Regions from separate parts of the Homo sapiens genome. Here regions 2 and 3 are each linked to region 1. Evidence: promoter capture Hi-C in 16 types of primary human blood cells and fetal thymus (Javierre and others, 2016). All regions are on one chromosome and are shown on one strand. Each heading gives the region's core, a stretch centred on a gene start or on the middle of the fragment in contact. The rest is flanking DNA. Distances are from core to core; before and after follow the strand shown.

Region 1 (3,576 bases), core at 258-2,757:
TATTCATTAGACATGAGCTGGACATGCCAACTTGTGGTGAGTAACTCTTGGACCCTTAAAGGAGGCAATGTTTCTCAAGTTCTGAAGCCCCCGTCTCTAGAGAATGCACAAGCTCTTTGAGAAAGGAGGAAAACCGTGTGCAATTACACTTGTCCTCTGATCTGCATTTAAAAAAAAAAAAAAGGTTTAGTACCCAAATCCTTAGCAGGCAAATCTCTCAGCCTTTTGAGGGAGTGGTCAAGGGTTTGCACGAAACGTTTCTGAAGAGAAAATAGGCTGTGAGTCTCCACATCACCCCCTCCACTTTGGTATTAATAAATACTTTTTTTAAAAAAAATACTGCACTGAGAAATTTACCAGACGATTTCTGGAAACTGACTTATGAACTAATTGGGCACTTTTGCTGTGCGGAGGAACAAAGACACTATTGGTCTTCAACTGAGGCATATACCTGTCTGATGGCGCTGGCTCATTCCGCACATGCTCAGTTGAACAGAAATCTTCATATTGAATGCAACCTAGCACAGCGGCAACACCCAGAACCTCACTCCCTGGCTGCTCCTGTGCCTGCACTCCCTCTAGTTGCATTCTGTTCCTGACAAGTCTAACATTTATAGGGAGTATAGAGAGCAGAGTAGGTCCTGGGAGTTTGAGGACAATATACAAATGAGCTTAAAGTCACGGTTTGTCCCTGCCTTCCTAGCTTCTCTCTAGGTTGGTCTCTAGTGAGGGTAGGCGCTGGATAGATATTTGTTGAGTTTGGGGCAGAACGTGGGAGAAGCTGTCTCTATAGATGACCGTTTGCTGTCGCACACCTTCCTAGGCAGTTTTTGTTTAGTCCTTTTCTTGGACGACCTCCCCTTACCCCCAGCCCTCATCTTCATTAAGGAATGACAGGGTAGCACTAAAAGCATCCGCTGCCAAGCACGGATTCAGTGACAACCTCTCTCCACCTCTCTTTTAGCTTTCTCATTCATTAGCACCCTTTCCCTGCCTCTTTTCCCAGCAAAAAACTGGGAAAGGCTCCCTGCGATTACAAAAGAAGGAAAGGGGAGCGGCCAGAGTTTCGTGCCTCTTGCCGGACAACGAGCGTGCAGCCGTGGACCTTTTGTCTCCAGCCCCTTTCGCGGCTTGGTCGCGGCTAGGCGCGGAGGCGACGACCCCAACCAGCCCCGCCTCGGCAGCTGCAGCCGGCGCGCCCCACTCAACCCCCCGCGCCCTCTAGAATCCCGGTGCCCGCCCGTTCGCCGTGACGCGGCCGGCGCCCCGCGCATGCGCCGCTCGGCCCGCTCCCCTTTCCCTGGGCCACCGCCTCCCGACCGGTTGGAGTGGGCGGAGCCTGTGGTTCTGGAAGCCGCGCCGCCGACGGGGGAGGAGGGCGTGTCTGCGCGAGGCGGGTGAGCGGGGCTGGCGAGCCGGTCGGCTGCTGAGGCGTAGGGGCGGAGCAGAAGGCGGCGGCCGCGGCTCCCGCCCGCACAGAGCGCCGGTCCCGCGAAGCCCCCTCCCACTCCCGGGCGGGCGGTGGCGGCTGCGGGAGGAGGAGAAAGAGGAGGGAGCGTCTCTGCCGCCGCCTCCTGGTCCCCAGCGCCGATCCGCCGCCGCCGCCACCTCCCTCCGCGGCGATCCTCGCTCCATGGTCCTGCCGCGGCCCCCTCTGTAGCCCGAGCTGCTCCGCGACGCGACGGAGCCGGCCTCGGACAGAGGGAGCGGTCGCGGCCTCGCGGCCCGCGCGGGCTGACGAGCGGAGAGCGCGACGCCGCGCGGTCCCCGAGGATCCGCACGCCGGGCAGCGCGGCCCGAGCAGCGCGAGAAGCAGCGGGCGGGCGGGCGGCGCCGGGCCCGGGCCGCCCTCGCTCCCGCGCCCCGGCCCCGCCGCCCGCGCCGGGGCGGTCGCCTGCAGAGGAAGGCGCCGCAGTCTCTGGGCCTCGCGGCCCCACTCGAGCGTCCTCGGCACCGAGGGCTCGCGGGTCCTGAGGGGAGGAGGCGATCCCGGGGCTGGGCACTGAGCTCTTGGGCGCCCCCACCCCCGTTTTCGAAGCCCTCCACGCTGCGGCCGCTATCCCCTCCGGACCATGGCCGACGACGACGTGCTGTTCGAGGATGTGTACGAGCTGTGCGAGGTGATCGGAAAGTGAGTCTCCACGCGAGGGAGCGGGAGTGTGGAAAAATGCATTTCAGTGATGCCCCGGTCTTCCCGCACCCGCTCGGGGCCTGCCCCCTGCCCTCCCTCCTTCCCCTCTTCCCCTCTCGTCCTTCTCATCCTGGAGTATTTATAGACGTGTACCTGGAGCTCCTGCCAGGCGGGGGCCTGGGGGTTCTCAGCGGTCCATTGAGGCCACCGAGCCGAGGTTGGCCACCCCGTAAGGCGTGGGGCCGGCTGCCTGCATTTTATCTGACGGTTGCACAGGGACGTGGCACAGCCGATTTTATAGTTGCTTCAGTTGGGGTTATTGTTACCTTGCATGTACCATAGACCATTTTTGAAACAGAGCAGCTTGCATTTCCTTTGCTTGTGTGGTGAGAGAGTCCAGGGTTTTAATTGTGGGGTGTGTGTCTATTGTGCGGGATATTAGACAGATGCCTTTGTGTACACCCCATGCTCGGATTGGAGGGGGTCATTTAAGACGGGGTGCTTTCAGTTTCAGCAAATTCCCTCCTGGTGTACACGAACGTGGAAAGAGTTGGGGGCATTCGAATTTTTAATGCCTTGTTATGCAATGACTGTTCAATCAGTGCTCGAGACTCCCCTCGACTGTTGTTGGGATGGTGGTTAGCGTGGTAGAGCCGTCTGCTTTGAGTCACCGGGCTGGTCTAGAATATAGAACTGACAGTCCAAATGCTCATCCTTTCATCTGTGTTGTATAATTACGCTGGGGAAAAGCAGGGAATCAGATTAATCACAGTGCTGATTGAGAATTAAATCTGCAGTTCCTCATCTAATTGTCCATTCCTTAAATCTATTTTGAATAGTTTCCTTTTCATTCTTGTCAAACAGTACTCCAAGTGCACAATCCTGCTAATTTGCTTGTGAAGGAAATGCTGGCAATCTGAAGTTGATTTCCTAACACAGCGTGTATTCTGCGGCTTTAGAAGTTGAGGAGATAAGATTTAAGAGCAAATTTTTGCTTAATAAGGATCGCTAGAGCTAACATTGAAATATCTTACCTCTTTTTTTTTTTTTTTTTTTTTTTGGAAGCGGTGCTTTATTGTCTATTTTAAGGTCCACAGTTGGGAAATGAAACCAAGACCTTAAAGCAGTTGGCCCTATCTCTTTTAAGTTGTCTGCAGTACTCAATTTCAATTTGAGTGCTAATTTGTTTCCTTTTCTTTCCATATTGAGGTATTACAGTGTTGCCTCACATGGTGAAATTGTGGGTAGAGCTTGCTACACACTTTACTCAGACCCAATTGATGTGAGGACATGTTACTCCTTGCCCTATTGTTACATGACCAGCCAGACTTAAAAGGAAAGTATCCAAATGTGTCCTGTTAAAGTGCTTGTGGAAGTGTTCTAGAACAGCACTGTCCAAAAGATATATTATGAGCCACATTTGTAATTTAAAATTTTCTAGTAGC
Region 2 (3,383 bases), core at 646-3,145, 1.7 Mb before region 1:
CCTTTTATTAATATATTCTTATATATTTAAATAAATTTCAAAATCATTTCATCAATGAAATGACTGGTTAACTTAATTGTGATGATATTTCCTAGACATCAATTTGAAAAATTTCTATTTGGCAGCCCTCACATCTTTTAAAATAAGTCTTCGTTTACAGAATACTCTTGAGAAATTGTTTCATTTATCCCTGAAATTAAACAAATTTGTGAGGATAATAAGAGTCTGTGTGTGTGTCTGTGTGTGTCTATTTGCGTGTGTGTAGTATCATAAATCCTTTCAATCTGTGGGTTTTTAATTTGGGGTTTTTGTTCATTCCTGGGCAAGGAGTTTTTCTCTACTATAACTTGGATTATTTTATCTGTTTTAAATATTTGGTTTCTTCCTCAGAAACACCTATAGTTATCTTGTTGGATCACCTTTCTATGTCCTTTATCATTGTTGTCATCTTTGTCCTTTTCCTCTGAATTTTGAGAGCTAATCAAATTTATCCTTCACATTACTGATTTAATTTTCTGAAGTTCTAATTCTATTTGTACTGCTTCTAATGCAGATTTTAACTGTCATTTCATTTTAGGTTTTGTTTTGTTTTTTACTTTAAGTTCTTATTTCAGCCAACTCACTTTTCATTTATGCCATGTATATCTCAATGCATTTTCTCCTTATGATTTCCTCACTATTTCACAGTGTGAACCACTGCCCTGGGCCAAAAATGCTATTCTTGGTCTATAGACACATATGGCATTCTCATACATTGCTGGCTCAAGTACAAATGGTACAACCTCTGATAGTGAGGAATTTGGTAATATCTAACAAAATACCTATGCATTTACCCCTTGACCCAGCAATCCTCCTAGGAATTTACCTTAATAATACACTTCCACAAACAGTGAAAAAATATGCCCAAGGTTATCTATTGTGGAATTATTTTGAATAGCAAAATATTCAAAACAATTTACATGCCCATCTATAGAGGACCATTTGCATAAACACTGATAAGTCTACACAATGAAACACTATTCAGTCATTACAAAAAAGAAAAGAAAGAAGATCTCTGTGAACTGGTATGGAATATGGAGTGATTTTCTGGATATATTTTCAAGTAGTAAAATGAAGGCCGGGTGCGGTGGCTCACACCTGTAATCCCAGCACTTTGGGAGGCAGAGGAGGGTGGATCACCTGAGGTCGAGAGTTCAAGAGCAGCCTGACCAACATGGAGAAACCCTGTTTCTACTAAAAATACAAAATTAGCCGGACATGGTGGTGAATGCCTGTAATCCCAGCTACTAGGGAGGCTGAGGCAGGAGAATCGCTTGAACCCAGGAGGCGGAGGTTGCAGTGAGCTGAGATCGCACCATTGCACTCCAGCCTGGGCAACAAGAGTGAAACGCCATCTCAAAAAAAAAAAAAAGTAGTAAAATGAAGGTATGAGAGAATATATATATAGCATACCTTTGAATATGTCTATATGTATGTATGTCTATTTGTATCTTTGTGTAAGGATATATTACTTATATTTTCAAAAATATATAGGAAGGATAAATCATATATGGAGAAATGAATGAAAATGGGATGGAAGGAGTAGGAATGGAAGTGAAGTTTCTCTGAGTATTCTTTTTTAAATAGTGCAACTCCCATTAGGGATTCTTCATGGGTCCAACTAAACCTTCAGACTCACAAAACTACCATGGACTGTATTTGGCATCAGTACACTCAAAGGGATACAACAAACCACAGCTTGCCAGCAGGACAGCATGGAGCGTTTACCTTCCATGGGTGTTCTTACAGCAGATCAAAGAGCAGTCAGACTAGCTATCCTGCGGCTATTCTCATTAGTTTCCCAAGTGGTAGTTTACGTACAAGGGAACAAGTTTCACTTCAGACAACAGTGGAACTTAGCCTGATTTAGCAGCCTTATGCCCCATAGGAGCCAATAACTTTTGTAATAATTACACAGGCATAGTTTCTAGGATCCCTCACATGGGACATAGCCAATTATAACAGTTACCACACTAAAGGAAGCCCAAAATTATGGTATTTGCATTGAGCATTTAGAGTTTATTTATGAAGTCTACCAGTCCAGATGCTATTTACCAGTCAGAGGCACTTTTTTGCTATAAGTAATGTTGCCTGAAGTTGGAACAATTTGAGCATCAAAAAATGATGACAATAATAAAACATTAATAGAAAATCCATCAGCCCATTGTGTTATACCAAAATAAATAAGTTAATAAAACATAAGGAGAAAGATGTTAAAAAGGAAAGTTTTTCTTTACAGAAAAATATCAGGTAGTAAATGTAGAAGGCATTATTAAAAACGACCACTTTGAACTCTTGTAGTAATCAATTCAAGCATCTCAGCAGATGCTAAAAACCAGGAGTGAAAGATTATTAGGAAATTGTTCATTCACAAGGTCTCCAAGTATCACCCTACAGATTATTTTATTAATTATAAAGGGAAAAACAATCCTTTACAGGTAAGAGATCTGGCAGTTACCACCTAAGCCAAATGATCAAACTTAAGATAATCAATCATCAATAATCTAATATAATATGTCCTTTGATGTCATGTAATAAGTTCACAACTGGCCAGGCGTGGTGGCTCATGCCTGTAATCCCAGCACTTTGGGAGGCCGAGGCGGGCAGATCACCTGAGGTCAGGAGTTCAAGACCAGCCTGACCAACATGGAGAAACCCCGTCTCTACTAAAAATACAAAATTAGCTGGGTGTAGTGGTGCATGCCTATAATCCCAGCTACTCAGGAGGCTGAGGCAGGAGAATCACTGGAACCCGGGAGGCAGAGGTTGCGGTGAGCTGAGATCGCGCCATCGCACTCCAGCCTGGGCAACAAAAGTGAAACTCCGTCTCAAAAAAAAAAAAAAAGTTCACAACCTTACTTATGCAGTATTCTTACCAAAAAATGCTTAACTTGAATCCAATCATGAGAGAACAATCCAACAAATTCAGATACAGGCTGTTTTACAAGACAACTGGCCTGGATCCTTCAATAAAAGTTAATGTGAAAAAAACTAAAAAGTATTGGGACTGTGCAAGATTAAGAGAATAAAGAGGCATGATCAAAGACTATTTGTAAAACTTGGCTGGATTCTGGTTTGGAAAATTAGAAAGCCATTGTGACAATGGAGGAAATTTAAATATGGACTGCATATTAGATGATATTATTGATTAGTGTTAATTTTACTACATGTGATAATAGTACTATAGTTATGGGGAGAATTTTTTTTTTTTTTTGAGATGGAGTCTCGCACTGTCGCCCAGGCTGGAGTGCAGTGGTGCGATCTTGGTTTACTGCAACCTCCGACTCCCGGGTTCAAGCGACTCTTCTGCCTCAGCCTCCCATGTAGCTGGGATTACAGGTGCC
Region 3 (3,210 bases), core at 370-2,869, 1.7 Mb before region 1:
CTGCAGCAAAAAGACCCATTTAACTCAGCATTTATCCACCCTCTGCTTTTTAAAAAAATGTATACCTGAAAACACACTTTAGGAAAGCTTGTTTAATCTCTCATAAGATTGATTGTTCAAATAGCATAATAAACTCCCAAAGGCAAGGTCCTAGGTGAACAATGCCCAGAGCACAAGCTGAGCATGTTGGAGCAAGGTTTTAGTGTAGCTATGGTGTATACCTGCCTAGTTCTTTCTCTTTATTCCCGAAAGTGACATCTTTCTTCAACTTTGATATGCATCATCACCTAGGAATTGCACAGAGTACACTGCATGATACATTGTTAATTCTCTATTATTCAGTGAAGTGGTCTCTGGCCAAAAGAATTCTTACATAACTGCACATTTGGACTCTTGGACTGAACACTCCAAGGGCAATAAAAAGTATAGTCAAATATCAACTCATATTGCCTCATTTTTGAGGCAATCAGATTTCATCAGATTTTCGAAGAGGCATTTTATTTTTGAGGCAATATGCCCAAAGCAGAGAAGCGAGAGCAAACCCCACAAATTTTACTCAAGGCATACAGTGATGCACAATTGACAAATATTTACTGAATGAATGAACAGATACATACAAGCAAGAAAATGGTCTTCAACTTAGGCCACAGCTCCAAGCTAACTCATTTAATCTGGAAACGGTCACCTTAAAGGTCATCTTCATTACATTTCAGAATTTATCCAAAATCTATGACACTTCTGTCGAGTATGACTTCCTCCATGAAATCCTTTCCTTGTCACTTCCTCCAGGTGGAATTAACTCCTCCCTCCTCTGTGCTGACATTGGACCTCTGAACCAACTTTGAAGAGCATTTCAGGCTCATCTCTGTAACCCCTGTGACACAGAGGTTACACAGATTCTATGCCTCACACAAGTCACTGAATAGACGATGGGCTAATGATACTTTAAATAAACAATCTTTGAAAACTACTAAAAGAAATCTCAACCACCACAGCCTTCCATTTCCTTCACCAATGTTTTCTCCCAAATTCTTTCTTTTCAAAACATGTCAATTTCACTTCTCTAGTTATCATAGAGCTAATATAGCAAATGTAGGTGCCTTCGTGTCCAGCCTGAATGTTTTGACTCTTCATCATGGTCTATTTAAAAATTCATTACTAGTAACTGTCTAATGATATAATGAATCCTCTGAAATATTTTTCACCACTTTCGTGAAGTCTCAGTATCAGCTAAAAATAATTACACTATTAGGACAGTGACGCAGAAGAGGTTTCCAGAACATTGGCCTGGTGCAGAGGAGAAAAACATCTATGCGTAAAAATACGCATTTTTTGGTGAAACGTCCAATAGCTTTCATCAGATTTTCCAAGAGACATTTGGTCCAAAAGGTCAAGAATCACTGATCTAAACTATCCCAACAATCTCTACATATCCTAAATGCACCAGGAATGGCCTTTCCAACAAGGAAATAGATTTGTCATATGAAAGTCATTTTATTTAATAGGGTGTCCCATATTTTTAAATTTAAATGTTCAGAAAGCAATAACATTCCTTGTGATATCTTATAATATATAAATTACTGTTAAGCAGTAGTCACTATGCTTTAGAGCATCAACGTTCAAAGTAAAGCAATAATAAGGTTTACTGCAGATCTATGGATGAGCTGACAAAGCAGGTCCAGTGAGGTGAGGTACAGAAAGAGCACTGTCCTGGAAGTCAGTATTTTACGCATCCAAGGACAAGTTAAACAGCTAAGAATTTTGTGGCATTTGGTAATTCCCTGGACCCCTCTGAGCCTCTGTTTCAGTCCCTTTGGGCTCTTACAGGCCACCATTCTATAACCCTTGGACATGGTTAATATATAATTACTTCAACTCTTAAATCTTATCATCTGTTTTTTATGTTCTTAACACTCTTAGTCAATCAATTAAATATTGTTATTGAGTGTGCTTTGTTTACTTTTGCCTAGCAACAACTAGAAAAGGGTTTTAAACAAAGTCTCAGAGAAGCCATGGGGAAAGTGTGAATGAGCACCTGTGGAGAGACCCAGGCCCTGATTCAAGTTTGTGAAGAATGTCAGTATGACAGATAATGCAAACTCTTCCCAGAATAAAGCATAGAAGAAAAAAACGTTGAGGAGGGTCCAAGAAAGAAAGCTAAAGAGACGGATCTTCATGAAATTGACTAATTACTAAAAATCCATACCAGAAGATATATCACATATAACTTAATCCAACTTCTTGGATGACAAAACCATAGTTCAAAGACTTTAAATTTCCCTAATACACAATGACAGATGGCAACATAACAAGAAATAGATTGTTTGAAGGAAAATACAAATTGCTGGTAAAAATATAAAATATTTGTCATGATAAAGGAGGAGAAACAGTCCCAACAATCAATTTGTCTCAAATGCTCACAACATTTAGAAAATGTTTTGATTCAATTTTTGAAGTTCTAATTACAATGAAAAAAAAAACCCTATCATTATGAAATCTATACATCTCCTACATACAAGTATATTCCTTAACAACTATTTATCGGGTGTCTACACTTTCTAAATCACAGGGCTGGGCACCCTATATGTAATATAAAACTAGAATACAACCTTAGTCTTTCTGAGTACACTTGAATGCAAATACTGCAAGATTTTTCATAGGTTAAAATATTTCTATGCCATAACTGCACAAAGATTGTGACCCAATATTCACCAATAATGGTGTTCCATGTTTCTTTTTCTCCATTATTGGTCTCTGTAATGTATGCAATTATGCTATACCTAGATCTATTGTTAAATACATTTTTCACAATAGCTGAGGATTATGTAACAATTCAAATCAATTAGTATTGACTAAATGCTAAAATTTCCCATTTAATGCCAGATAAATCCAAAAGCTCCTTCAACCATGAAGATTTCAAAAAAAAAAAATCAGAACACAAATAAATGTAATTCTTGTATTCTTTGTTTAGTATTTAAAAAGTTTATGAAGTAAAAACACCCTAGTTTATTTTTTAGAAAAATAAAATATAAATTAGGGGCAGAGAAGTGTCCTAAACAGCAAAAAATTAATGCTCAGCCCACATTGAACCTCAGAGTATTTAAATAACTAAGACACCAAAAATAAGTGGCATTTCTTAAATGGAAGCTTTTCTTAATCACTGCAAAACCACACAGTACATGCTGCCAAGTTCTGGGTTAAAATGCCTAA

Evidence for each region. The method cuts DNA at HindIII sites, captures the fragments that hold promoters and counts their contacts. A CHiCAGO score of 5 or more calls a contact.
Region 2: a fragment that was not itself captured here is called in contact with the fragment with the promoter of CASK in region 1 in 1 of 17 cell types (fetal thymus); the score reaches 5.0 in fetal thymus.
Region 3: a fragment that was not itself captured here is called in contact with the fragment with the promoter of CASK in region 1 in 1 of 17 cell types (monocytes); the score reaches 6.4 in monocytes.

The regions. Positions count from the first base shown.
Region 1 is chrX:41,921,485-41,925,060 of GRCh38, reverse strand. CASK (calcium/calmodulin dependent serine protein kinase) reads left to right here and starts at 1,507. Exons shown (of 27, transcript NM_001367721.1): 1 at 1,507-2,131. The coding sequence starts at 2,073. RefSeq lists silencers at 1,153-1,732, 2,003-2,052. The HindIII fragment of the contact is 8,208 bases long and covers 1-3,576 here.
Region 2 is chrX:43,645,450-43,648,832 of GRCh38, reverse strand. No RefSeq gene overlaps it. Among named protein-coding and RNA genes, the nearest start is that of MAOA, 9.2 kb to the left of the region's middle. The HindIII fragment of the contact is 9,080 bases long and covers 1-3,383 here.
Region 3 is chrX:43,662,084-43,665,293 of GRCh38, reverse strand. The region is part of intron 1 of MAOA (monoamine oxidase A); the gene reads right to left. Among named protein-coding and RNA genes, the nearest start is that of MAOA, 7.4 kb to the right of the region's middle. The HindIII fragment of the contact is 3,060 bases long and covers 90-3,149 here.